Linked DNA regions of Homo sapiens: all the other regions are linked to region 3. The links are contacts of gene promoters, found by promoter capture Hi-C in human tissues and cell types (Jung and others, 2019). All regions are on one chromosome and are shown on one strand. Each heading gives the region's core, a stretch centred on a gene start or on the middle of the fragment in contact. The rest is flanking DNA. Distances are from core to core; before and after follow the strand shown.

The links. Contacts are between HindIII fragments. The study calls those that stand out against the background at their distance.
Region 1: a fragment that was not itself captured here is called in contact with the fragment with the promoter of RAB3IL1 in region 3 in 3 of the 25 tissues and cell types used here (H1 embryonic stem cells, aorta and stomach).
Region 2: a contact is called between a fragment that was not itself captured here and the fragment with the promoter of RAB3IL1 in region 3, in 1 of the 25 tissues and cell types used here (spleen).

The regions. Positions count from the first base shown.
Region 1 is chr11:62,059,268-62,063,645 of GRCh38, forward strand. The region is part of intron 1 of LINC02733 (long intergenic non-protein coding RNA 2733); the gene reads right to left. Among named protein-coding and RNA genes, the nearest start is that of LINC02733, 21 kb to the right of the region's middle. The HindIII fragment of the contact is 8,729 bases long and covers 1-4,378 here.
Region 2 is chr11:62,075,477-62,079,689 of GRCh38, forward strand. All of the region lies in intron 1 of LINC02733 (long intergenic non-protein coding RNA 2733), which reads right to left. Among named protein-coding and RNA genes, the nearest start is that of LINC02733, 4.7 kb to the right of the region's middle. The HindIII fragment of the contact is 3,887 bases long and covers 740-4,213 here.
Region 3 is chr11:61,915,399-61,919,439 of GRCh38, forward strand. It overlaps RAB3IL1 (RAB3A interacting protein like 1), which reads right to left and starts at 2,168. Exons shown (of 10, transcript NM_013401.4): 1 at 1,959-2,168. The coding sequence starts at 1,969. The HindIII fragment of the contact is 7,999 bases long and covers 811-4,041 here.

The sequences.
Region 1 (4,378 bases), core at 1,010-3,509, 140 kb after region 3:
GTGTGGGTTTTACCTGTGTGGTTTCTTTTTTTTTTAAGTGTATATTATTTGTGTATGTGTGTAGTACTTGTGGTTTGTTTTCCTGTCTTTGAGACAGAGTCTCTGTCACCCAGGCTGGAGTGCAGTGGCGCTATCTCAGCCTACTGCAACCTCCGCCTCCTGGATTCAAGCGATTTTCGTGCCTCAGCCTCCCAAGTAACTGGGACTACAGGTGTGCACCACTACTCCTAATTTTTTTTTTTTTCGTATTTTTAGTAGAGATGGGGTTTCACCATGTTGGCCAAACTGGTCTTGAACTCCTGACCTCAAGTGATCCGCCCCCCTCAGCCTCCCAAAGTGCTAGAATTACAGGCGTGAGCCACCGTGCCCGACCTGTACTGTGGCTTTTATTTGACAATAAAACAGTTCTTTAAAATGTACCCTGGGGGCAGAGCTGGGCATAGTGGTCCTTGCCTGTAATCCCAGCACTTCGAGAGGCCAAGGTGGGAGGATTGCTTGAGCTCATGAATTTGAGACCAGCCTGGGCAACATGGCAAGACCCCGTCTCTACAAAAAAAATTTAAAAATTAGCCGAGTGTGGTGGTGCGTGCCTGTAGTCCCAGCTACTCGGGATACCGAGTCAGGAGGATTGCTTGAGCCCAGGAGGTTGAGGCTGCAGTGAGCCATGATGGCACCACTGCAATCCAGCCTGGGTGACAGAACAAGACTGTGTCTTTTAAAAAAAGAAAAGAAAGGGCCGGGCGTTGTGGCTCACGCCTGTAATCCCAGCACTTTGGGAGGCCAAGGTGGGTGGATCGCTTGAGGTCAGGAGATCGAGACCAGCCTGGCCAACGTGGTGAAACCCAGTCTCTACTAAAAATACAAAAATTAACCAGGTATGGTGGTGGGTGCCTGCAATCCCAGCTACTCAGGAGGCTGAGGCAGGAGAATTGCTTGAACCTGGGAGGCAGAGGTTGCAGTAAGCCGAGATTGTGCCATTGCACTCTAGCCTGTGCAACAAGAGCGAAACGCCATCTTGAAAAGAAGAGAAAAATATCCCTTGGGTCTAGTCCCAGTGCTGCCACACAAAGGCCACCTCTCTTTCTGCTCTCCCATCCTGCCTTTGTCACAATTCTGACCCGTTTAGAACCTAACCTAAGTCAAGGCCTGGACAGAGTTATTCTAAAGCAAAGTGACTGAGTGTATGTGTGTGTGTGTGTGTGTGTGTGTCTCCAAGTGTACATATTTCCTTTTTACTTCTGAGATTATACCTTCTGGGACAGGTGGAAACCTTTCTTTTTCAAGTCCTTCATCTTCAGTGGCTACTTACCATCCCCATAGCTGGAGTTTAAGGAAATCTATCCCTAAAGAAGGGGTCCAACCTCAGTCTTAACTTTTTTTTTTTTTTGAGACAGAGTTTCACTATTGTTGCCCAGGCTGGAGTGCAATGACACGATCTCCACTCACCACAACCTCCGCCTCCCGTGTTCAAGCAATTCCTCCTGCCTCAGCCTCCCAAGTAGCTGGGATTACAGGTGTGCGCCACCACGCCTGGCTAATTTTGTATTTTTAGTAGAGACGGGGTTTCTCCATGTTGGTCAGCCTGGTCGTAAACTCCCAACCTCAGGTGATCCGCCCACCTCAGCCTCCCAAAGTGCTGAGATTACAGGTGTGAGCCACCGCGCCCAGCCATCTCTCTTTATTTGAGATGGAGTCTCACTGTGTCTCCAAGGCTGGAGTGCAGTGGTGCAATCTTGGCTCACTGCAACCTTCGCCTCCCGGGTTCAAGTGATTCTTGTGCCTCAGTCTCCCAAGTACCTGGGATTACAGGCATGCACCACCACACTCGGCTCCTTTTTTTTTTTTTTTTTTTTTGAGACAGGGTCTCTCTGTTGCTCAGGCTGGAGAGCAGTGGGGCAATCATAGCTCACTGTAACCTTGAACTCCTGGGCTCAAGCGATCCTCCTGCCTTGGCCTCCCAAAGTGCTGGGATTACAGGCATAAGACACCACGCCTGGCTAATTTTTGTATTTTCAGTAGAGAGGGGGGTTTTCGTATGTTTGCCAGGCTGGTCTTGAACTCCTGACCTCAGGTGATCCGCCTGCCTTGACCTCCCAAAGTGCTGGGATTACAGGTGTGAGCCACTGCACCTGGTCTTATTAACTCTCTAGAAGGCCTTAGCAGCCCCAATTTGCTTGCTGAACAGATCTTCCTTGCATGAGTTGGATAAAACTTCTCTCCAAAATTTCATGTATGCACTTTTTACCTGATGAGCAGGTAAGCTTTACATTTTTATCCCACGAGCGCCACCTTCCTATCTCTCTTTGCTATTTTTCTCTCTTTATCTGCACTGCTTGCTTCACATTTACTCCTTTCTGCATTTGGAAAGAGAAGAGGGAAAATGCATTTTAAAAAAAGAGGCGAGAAATGGAAACTAGAGAGGCCTCCCACTGGCCTCCCCCTATGGTGGCGTCCACTTAGCCACTTGGCCTCCGCCGTTCTGCTGCAGAAAAGTCAGTCTGTGTCTACGCTCATCCTGAAAACAGGCAGAGGTAGGAGCAAGGAGGCCTCCCACTGCCTTCTCTGGGGAGGGATCCTAAGTCCCGCGGAACATTTATAGAGTCCCTGCTCTCCAACAAGGCAAGAACCTTGTTGCAAAGGAGCACAAAGATCCCCAGAGAAGCCTGTGCAGGAAAGATAAAATGGAAAAACCCACAGTCAAAAAAGAAAGAAAAACAGCTGTGGCATTCCGAAAAGACAAGCGTCCACTGTTCTCTAATGTGGCTGGTTTTCCTAACTCCTCACATACTGATTCCCTCTTCATTGGATGTCCCCAAGGCCAGAGCACAGTCTGATTTGTCCAGAGCCACTTTGTGAGTGGAAAAAAAAACCAACTGATTTTCCTCTGCTCTCACACTACACAATAAAGACAGAAGACTTCTGTGACCAAATGTGTGGGTTTTTTTCCCCACATGCCAAGCAATCAATCAATTTTGCCATGGACACCAGCTGAGCGTCCTCCAGTTTAATTCTGACACCACCTACCCAGAAATAGCATCAGATCTCCCAGGTTTAGAGCTCAGTGCCTCAGGACTGCCCCCCTCGCTTTAGACACCAGTTGCATCTCAAGATGCGTGATGCAATTAGGCGCATAGCCAGACATACTTTACCCCAGGCTGGGGCTCAGGGCCCAGGTTCTAGTCCCAGCAATGCCTCCAACAGGGTGTGAGAATGAGCTATTTCCTCTACTTCTGTTTGTACCAATGAAATACACAAAAACACCACTAGCCCTGGGCCCAGGCTTTCACTGTCAAAGGGATTTGAAGAATTTTGTCATCATATTTGAACCTCAAAACAGTCCCAGGAGAAGCAGGCCATGTTTTAAGATGATGTCATCCATTGCTTTCTTGGTATGAACTAAGCACCTTGCCCTCCCTCCCTCTTCCTAGGGGAAGGCTTAGACATTTCTGGCTCCAGTCAATTAACAACCTCATCTTGACTGACTTATTGAAAGAATTAAGTAGCTGGGATTACAGGCATGTACCACCATGCCCAGCTAATTTTGTATTTTTTAGAGAAGACTGGGTTTCACCATGTTGGTCATGCTGGTCTTGAACTCCTGACCTCAGGTGATCTACCCGTCTTGGCCTCCCAAAGTGCTGGGATTACAGGCATGAATCACCATGCCCGGCAACCATCACAGGTCATGATGGTTGCAGGGGTCCTGTAATCATCTCTCAGTCCTTGCTGATCCATGTGTAAGGTGCAGTTCCTCTGGTGTTAATGCCTAGCAAATGGACTTTGTATCTTAATATGAAGGAAAGGGAAGGTGCTATGGTCTAAATGTTTGTATCTCCCCAAAATTTATATGCTGAGACCTAACCCCAAGATGATGGTATTAGGAGGCAGGGCCGTTGGGAAGTGATTAAGTCATGACAGCAGAGCTCTCATGCATGGGATGAGTATCCTTCGAGGCCCTAAAGAGACCCCTCACTCTAGAAGATGCCGTCTGTGAACCAGAAAGCAGGCCCTCCCCAGATACCAAATCTGCAGGCACCTTGATCTTGGACTTCCCAGCCTCCAAAACTGTGAAAAAAAGAACTGTTGACTGACCAGCTTCAAGGGTTCCCACGGCCCCCTCTTTAGGCTCAATTAATTTGCTAGAGCAACTTACAGGATTCAGGGAAATACTGATGTTTACCAGTTTATTATAGAAGATATGACGAAGGATACAGATGAAGAGGTGCATAAAAAGAGATATGGGGGTGCTGAGTGTGGTGGCTCACACCTGTAATCCCAGCACCTTGGGAGGTTGAGGTGGGCAGAGCACAAGGTCAGGAGTTTGAGACCAGCCTGGCCAACATGGTGAAACCCCATCTCTACTAAAAAAATTTAAAAA
Region 2 (4,213 bases), core at 1,433-3,932, 160 kb after region 3:
GAGAGAGGAGAGAGAATGGAAAAAGAGGGTGCCAAAAGCCACAGCCTGTAGCCTGTGCAGGGACCAGGGACAGGGGTGGCTCAGAAGGAACTGCTGCTTCCTACAATGCTGGAGTGGCCTGGGGCTTAGGAAAGCCAGAGGGCAGGATTCAGTCATGCAGTGAAGAGAAGGACTAATGAAAGGCCTGGACGGTAACTCCTGATTCCTCTCATTCTGTCCTGTCTTGAAGCCCAGAATCCAGAGAGTCAGGTTTTTCCATGTTTCACCCCATGCCAAAAAGTGGAGCCCTCTTCTTTAGTGAAATGGAAAGCCCTAAAAAGAGATAATCAAAACTGCTGGTTTCCCACACTGTCTCCCTAAAGCGAAGTCTGCTGCTACAATCCCTGACCTTGGATGGAATCGCAGTCCTCTTACTAGTGCTTCATTTAAAAAATATTAACTTGGTTGGACGTGGTGGCTCACGCCTGTAATGCCAGCACTTTGGGAGGCCAAGGAGAGCAGATCACCTGAGGTCAGGAGTTCGAGACCAGCCTGGGCAACATGGTGAAACCCCATCTCTACTATAAATACAAAAGTTAGCCAGGCGTGGTGGCGGGCGCCTGTAGTCCCAGCTACTTGGGAGGCTGAGGCAGGATAATCACTTGAACCTGGGAGGCGAAGGTTGCAGTGAGCCAAGACTGCGCCATTGCACTCCAGCCTGGGTAACAAGAGCGAAACTCGGTCTGAAAACAAAATAATAATAATAAAGTAAATAAAAATAAAAATATTAACTTTATTGAAGTGCAATTTACACACAATAAAATACACTTTTTTTTTTTTGAGACAGAGTTTCACTCTTGTTGCCCAGGCTGGAGTGCAATGGCGCGATCTCAGCTCACCACAACCTCCACCTTCCGAGTTCAAGTGTTCTCCTGCCTCAGTCTCCCAAGTAGCTGGGATTACAGGCATGCGCCACCACACCCGGCTAATTTTGTATTTTTAGTGGAGACGGGGATTTCTCCATGTTGGTCAGGGTGGTCTCTAACTCCCAACCTCAGGTGATCTGCCTGCCTCGGCCTCCCAAAATGCTGGGATTACAGGCGTGAGCCACCACGCCCAGCCTACACTCATATTTACGTGAGCACTTTGATGGGTTGTGACAAACATTTATACCCACGTATCCACCAACACAACAGGACATAGAACATTTCCACCACCCCAGAACTTTCCTCACGTCCCTTTATGATCCATACCACTCCCACCTTGGTCCCAGGACTGGGAAACCACTGACCTGCTTTTTTGTTGTATTAAGTTGTTTGTCCTTTTCTATTTTCCTTTCCCTATTTTATTTTATTTATTTATTTTTTTGAGAGGGAGTCTCGCTCTGTTCCCCAGGCTGGAGTGCAATGGCATGATCTCTGCTCACTGCAACCTCTGCCTCCCGGGTTCTAGGGATTCTCCTGCCTCAGCTTCCTGAGTAGCTGGGATTACAGGTGCCCGCCACCAGGTATGCCTCATTTTTATGTTTTTAGTAGAGATGGGGTTTCACCATGTTGTTCAGGCTGGTCTCGAACTCCTGACCTCAGGTGATCCACCCGCCTCAACCTCCCAAAGTGCTAGGATTACAGGGGCGAGCCACCACGCCCGGCCCTTTCCCTATTTTAGATGAAGGAAATCACTCTATTGTGTCCAGCCTCTTTTGCTTGGTATAATGCGTTGAGATTTACCATGTTGTTACGTCTGTCAGTACTTAATTGCTTTTGATTGGTGAATATTGTCTTAGTATTTTTGGGCTGTTGTAACAAAATACCTTAGACTGGGTAATTTGCAATCTATGTACATTTATTGCTCACAGTTCTGGAAGCTGGGAATTCCAAGAACATGGCATCAGCAGATTCACTGACTGATGAGGGCTTGCTCTCAGTTTCAAGGATGGTGCTTTCTAGCTGTGTCTTCACATGGGAAAAGACATAAACACGTTCTCTCAGGCCTCTTTTTTTTTTTTTTTTGAGACAGGATCTCTGTGCTAGAATGGCAACTGAAAATAAAAAAAGAAAAAATATGCTAGAATGATAATTGAAAATAAAGTTTTTAAAAAAAGATAGGGTTTCCCTGTGTTGGCCACACTGGAGTGTAGTGGCGGGATCACGGCTCACTCAGTCCTCTTTTATAAGGGCCCTGATTCTTTCATGAGGCTTTACCCTCATGAACATATCACTTCCTAAAGGCCCCATCTCTTTTATTTATTTATTTTTTTGAGATGGAATTTCGCTCTTGTTGCTCAGGCTAGAGTGCAATGGCGCCATCTCGGCTCACTGCAACCTCCACCTCCTGGGTTCAAGCGATTCTCCTGCCTCAGCCTCCCAAGTAGCTGGGATTACAGGCATGCACCACCATGCCAGGCCAATTTTGTATTTTTCTTTTTTTTCTTGAGATGGAGTTTTGCTGTTGTTGCCCAGGCTGGAGTGCAATGGCGTGATCTCGGCTCACTGCAATCTTTGCCTCCCAGGTTCAAACGATTCTCCTGCCTGAACCTCCCAAGTAGCTGGGATTACAGGCATCTACCACGCCCAGCTAATTTTGTATTTTTAGTAGAGATGGGGTTTCACCATGTTGGCCAGGCTGGTTTTGAACCCCTGACCTCAGGTGATCCACCTGCCTCGGCTTCCCAAAGTGCTGGGATTACAGGCGTGAGCCACCGCACCCAGCCAGGCCCCACCTCTTAACACAGGCTGAGCACCATCATTCAAAATGTGTTTTTTTTTTTTTAGACGGAGTCTCACTGTCACCCAGGCTGGCACAATCTCAGGTTACTGCAGCCTCTTCCTCCTGGGTTCAAGCGATTCTCCTGCCTCAGCCTCCCCAGTAGCTAGGATTACAGGCAACCACCACCACGCCCGACTAATTTTTGTATTTTTAGTAGAGACAGGGTTTCACCATGTTGGCCAGGCTGATTTTGAACTCCTGACCTCAGGTGATCCGCCTGCCTTGGCCTCCCAAAGTGCTGGGATTACAGGCGTGAGCCACCACGCTGGGCTTTGAAAAGCTTTTTGAGTACCAATGTGACCCTCAAAGGAAATGGTCATTGGAGCATTTCAGATTTCTGCTTTTTGGATTTGGGATGCCAGTAAATATTATGCAAATATTCCAAATCCAAAATGCTTCTGTTTCTAAGCATTCCAGATAAGGGATAGTTAGATTTCAACATATGAGTTTTGCGGGACAGAAACATTTAGATCATAGCAAATGGTATTCCATTCTATGGATATGCCACAATTCCTTTATTCATTCTCCTGTTGATGGATATTTGGGTCCTTTCTAGTTTGGGGGTTATTATAAATAAAGCTGCCAAGAACTTCTTCAGACAAATCTTTATGAGTATACATATTTTCTCTTGGGTAAACACCTACAGGTGAAATTGCTGGATCATGAAGTAAGTATATGTGAACTTTATAAGAAACTGCCAAAATGTTTTCCAAAATAGTTGTGTCATTTTTCATTCCCATCAGCAGCATATGAATGTCCCAGTTGTTCCACATCCTTGGCAACACTTGGCATTATCAGTTCGTTTACTTTTAGCCATTTTGGTGGGTGAAAAGTGGTATGTCACTGTGTTCTTAATTTGCATTTATTTGAATATAAGGTGAGGGCTTCCCCCCACCAAAATAGCATCCTTTGGAAAGAAGGGAGTTATATTTCTGTTCTTTTTTTTTTTTCTTTGAGACAGAGTTTTGCTCTTGTTGCCCAGGCTGGAGTGCAATGGTGTGATCTCGGCTCACTGCAACCACCACCTCCTGGGGTTTAAGTGATTCTCCTGCCTCAGCCTCCCGAGTAGCTGGGATTACAGGCATGTGCCACCATACCCAGCTAATTTTTGTATTATTAGTAGAGATAGAGTTTCACCATGTTTGCCAGGCTGGTCTCAAAGTCCTGACCTCAGGTGATCTGCCTGCCTTGGCCTCCCAAAGTGCTGGGATTACAGGTGTAAGCCACCGTGCCCGGCCTATATTTGTGTTCTTATAAAGTGCCTGAAAAGCTGGAGGACAATGGAGCAATGCCTTGAAAAGATTTATGGGAAAATGATTTCCTACCTGGAATTCAATTCCTAACCAGATCATCAATCAAGCAGAAGCAGAACAAAAGCCACTAAAAGACATGGAAAGTTTTCAAAAATTTTCACTACCGAGCATCCACCTCCAGAAGTCTTGAGGATGCGTTCTATAAAAATGAAGGA
Region 3 (4,041 bases), core at 918-3,417:
CCTTGGCCTGGGTGCCTCCAGGGAAGGACATTCTCTGACCTGCGATCACTCCCACCCCAGAAACCATTTATTTTACCTAGAGGCCCAGAGAAGGAAGTCCACACTCTCAAGGTCACACAGCAACTAACTCAGGGGCTGTGTTGCCTGAGTCCACCCAGCCGGCACAAGACACAGGCTTCCGGCAGACGAGGCTGCTCCCCAAACACAATTCACCCCGGGCAGGACTGCCCTAACCTCTCCAGGTACCACAAACCCACCTCAAGCACTTTCTCCTAAGCCAGCCTCCTTCCTCCAAGCACAATGCCAACAAATACACTAGTGGCCTTCAACTCTCTCCCTTTAAGAGTCTCAAGCCCAGGCCGGGTGCAGTGGCTCACACCTGTAATCCCAGCACTTTGGGAGGCTGAGGCGGGCGGATCACAAGGTCAGGAGATCGAGACCATCCTTGCTAACATGGTGAAACCCTGTCTCTACTAAAAACACAAAAAAATTAGCTGGGCGTGGTGGCGGGCGCCTGTAGTCCCAGCTACTCGGGAAGCTAAGGCAGGAGACTGGTGTGAACCTGGGAGGTGGAGCTTGCACTGAGCCGCGCCACTGCACTCCAGCCTGGGCGACAGAGTGACACTCTGTCTCAAAAAAAAAAAAAAAAGAGTCTCAAGTCTTAGGGCAGGGCGTGGTGGTAAAAGCCTGTAATCCTAGCACTTTGGGAGGCTGAGGCTGGTGGATCACCTGAGGTCAGGAGTTCGAGACCAGCCTGATCAATATTGTGAAACCCCGTCTCTACTAAAAATACAAAAATTAGCCGGGTGTGGTGGTGTGTGCCTGTAGTCGCAGCTACTCAGGAGGCTGAGTCAGGCGAATTGCTTGTACTCAGGCAGCGGAGGTTGCAGTGAGCTGAGATCTCGCCACTGCACTCCAGCCTGGGTGACAGAGCAAGACTCCGTCTCAAAAAAAAAAAAAGTCCCAAGCCTCTCCACACCTCACCCCTAACAGGAGCCCACTCTCTCCACACCCCCTGCTGGGGATGAAAGGCCATCCCTCCCCTAGCATCGCAGCTCAACCTTTGCTAGGTGCCATGGAGTGAAGTGGATCCTGCCTGCCTTTCCGGGGGGCTTCCCTCACTCCCCAGCTGTAGCTGGGCAGTAGCCCTCTCCTGGGACCACTCATCTGGCCCAGGGGGCACAGGAGTACAACCTGTCCCCCATTCTGGCCACATTTCCTCCACGACCTGGTCTTTCCCGGCCACGGGGAAGAGGAAGTGTTTGCCCAACTCCACAAAAACACCACAACCTTTCTGCACATACAGGGCAGGGGTCCCACATCAGATGGGCCAGGAACTGCAACTGCCCCTGAGAACCAGTGGCCTGAACAGACACAGCCACTGGGGCCACTAATCCAGGACCCAGAGTCTCTGCTACCCCACTCCAGGCTGCGGGGCCGGGGCGGGGGGGGTTCCCACTCCACACCTCTGAGAGCCTCCGTACTTCCAGAGCCCCACAAGGAGGTTCTGCCCTCAACTTGGGAGCCACCCTGGCAAAGACCCAGCCCCTCTTTCCCAGCTACACTGCTTTCCAAGAGTTCATCCAGCGAAGGGGTTGAGGGACAGGTTGGGAGGGTGGGCTGGGGGTCCTTCCTCTAGGTGCATGCCCCAGAGTCGTGCACACTCTTCCCCACACCCCAACTCTTCTCACTTGCGCTCCTGATGAGCTAAGAGGAGTTGACGCTGTCACCCCGGGACGGTCGGCTGCCCACCCTTCGCACCCTGCACCCCGAGAGACACCCCCGACCCCTCCCCCGGAGTCTCCTGGCTGCAAGTCGGCTCGCCTGCAGGCAGGGCGGGGGCGCACAGCACCTCCGGGTGGCGGCGCAGACCCGGCGGGGACCCCCGAAATCCTCCCGTCCCGGGAGGCGACCGCGGCCCAGACCCAGCGCGGGACCGCGAGCGCGCGCGGACCTACCCGCTCCACATCCCGGCGCCTCGGGGCGCCCAGGCGTCCGTTCCCAGCGCCGCCGCGTCCTCCCAGCGCCGCGTCCCCGCCCGCCGCCGACTCCGCCAGGGGCCGAGCCGCCCCACCGCCTGTCAGCCCTGCCCGCGGCCGGTCAGTAGGTCTCAGACGCCTGGGCTCGCGGCCCCCAGCCCAGCCCCGACCCTGCCCTGGGCGGGTCACGTGGCGGAGGGGGGAGCGGCCCGAGGACACGTGCCCGGCCCCGCCCCTCCGCCGGCCCGGCGCTGGGATCCGGCGCGCGCTCCCAAGGCCTGGCCCCACCCGGCCCGCCGCGCCGGGACAGGGAGACCACGGCGCTCGGAGGGAACCCGGCCCCCAACATCCCGCGGGCCGCGCCGCGCTCAGACTCCCCAGCTGACTCCTCCTCTCCAGTCGCCCTCCGCACCACCCACTTTGGGCCACCCCTGCTCAAGAACCTACAATGGCTCCCGAGCTCTCAGCTCTTCGATTCTCACACAGATTGTCACTTAAGGCCAGCAGACACCCTCCCCCCTCCTCACCCGGCCCTCCTTCCCTAGGCTGTCTGCTTAGTGCCTGTCCCTGTGCAACATCCTGCCTGCTGGGAAGGGGAGGGGACAAACCCGAAACAAGTTTTCTGAGTCCTACTCTCTGAGTTTTATCCCGAAGGAGTTTCCACTTCTGGTCCAACTCTCCTCACTCAGCCTCCTGCCACTTAACACGCTCTGCCCATCCCTGCCTTTACTCACCATCTGCCCTCTGGATAGTATTCCCCACCCCACCCCCACCGACACACACACATACACACACCTGTCTGGTCCCACATCCTCCGTGAAACCTTCCCTGAATCCCAGACGACTGGTCTACCTGTCCCTCAGTTCCTCTGTCCCACCCATTCTGAGTCCTGATCATTCGTCTCAACTTCAGCCTGGGACTGGACCAGTAAGAGCAGAACCCGTCTTCTCTCCCGCCAGGTACCATGGCTCCCACCTTCCCTGTCTAGGGGAGGACTGGGAGCGTGGTGGGAGGTACTTCCCCTTCTAGGTGCTACCAGAGGTCCCAGTGCTACCCCTCCAGGCCCACTGACTCAGGCCGCAGGCTCAAGTTAGTCAGATCTTCGTTTGAGGATACATTTTATTCATTCATTCTACTCATTCATACATTCAGCCACTCCATCTGAGCATAGACTATGGGGCATGCAAGGGGCTGGGGACCCAGCAGGAAACTGTACAGACATAGGTTCTGCCCTCCTGGGGCTCCACGTTGGTGGAGGATGGAGGATGGGGGACGTATTCTCTAAGACCTCCACGTCCAGGGCACAAATAGACAATGCTCTTTCCCCGCTGGGCACAGCGCACAGCAAGGTATGGAATCTGGAGAGTGGAGGCGAGGCTGGATTCTATGCCTTGCTTGCTCCCTTGGCCAGCACTTTGTGCAGTGAACAACCTAGGCAGTTCTCCATAGCATCCCTTCCAACTTTCTAGAATCATTCAGCCCAGGCGTCCCATAGCCATCACTCAGCAGGGCAGTTGTTTCCATGGCCACGGCTTCCAGAGGGCAGGGATTCTCTCTTTCTTGGAGCTATGTTCCCCTACCCCACCCCCAGCCCAGCTCAGGGTCTGGCCCACCCAAAGCAGATGTCCACATGTGTTTGCTGGCTTGAATCCCTCATCAGTTGGTCTTGAGCAACTGTTGTCTTCCTGGCCCTTATTTTGTTCACTATTTAGAGAAGGAGGAGAAAATGACACAAAAGGAACCCAGCACAGGGCCCTTGCCCTCCAAGTCTTCACAAGCCCCGGCAGGAGATAAGTCATGGCAACCCAGACCAGTGGGAGATAAAGGGTGGAGGAGGCGTCAGCTCAGGGCTATGTCCCTGGAGGAAGAGTCCTCAGCCTGGGAGGTCTGGTGGACCGGGGAGGCCCTTGAGCGAGGTCTTGAAGGACAAGTCTGTGGTCACCACTCTGGAAGCATCCACACTCAATTTCTAACCAAAAATAGCCTGTCATCCATGCTTCCTGCTACCATGGACTCCTAGGGCTCACTGCCTCCCCCAGTAGGGAGGACCCTCCTGCTCAGC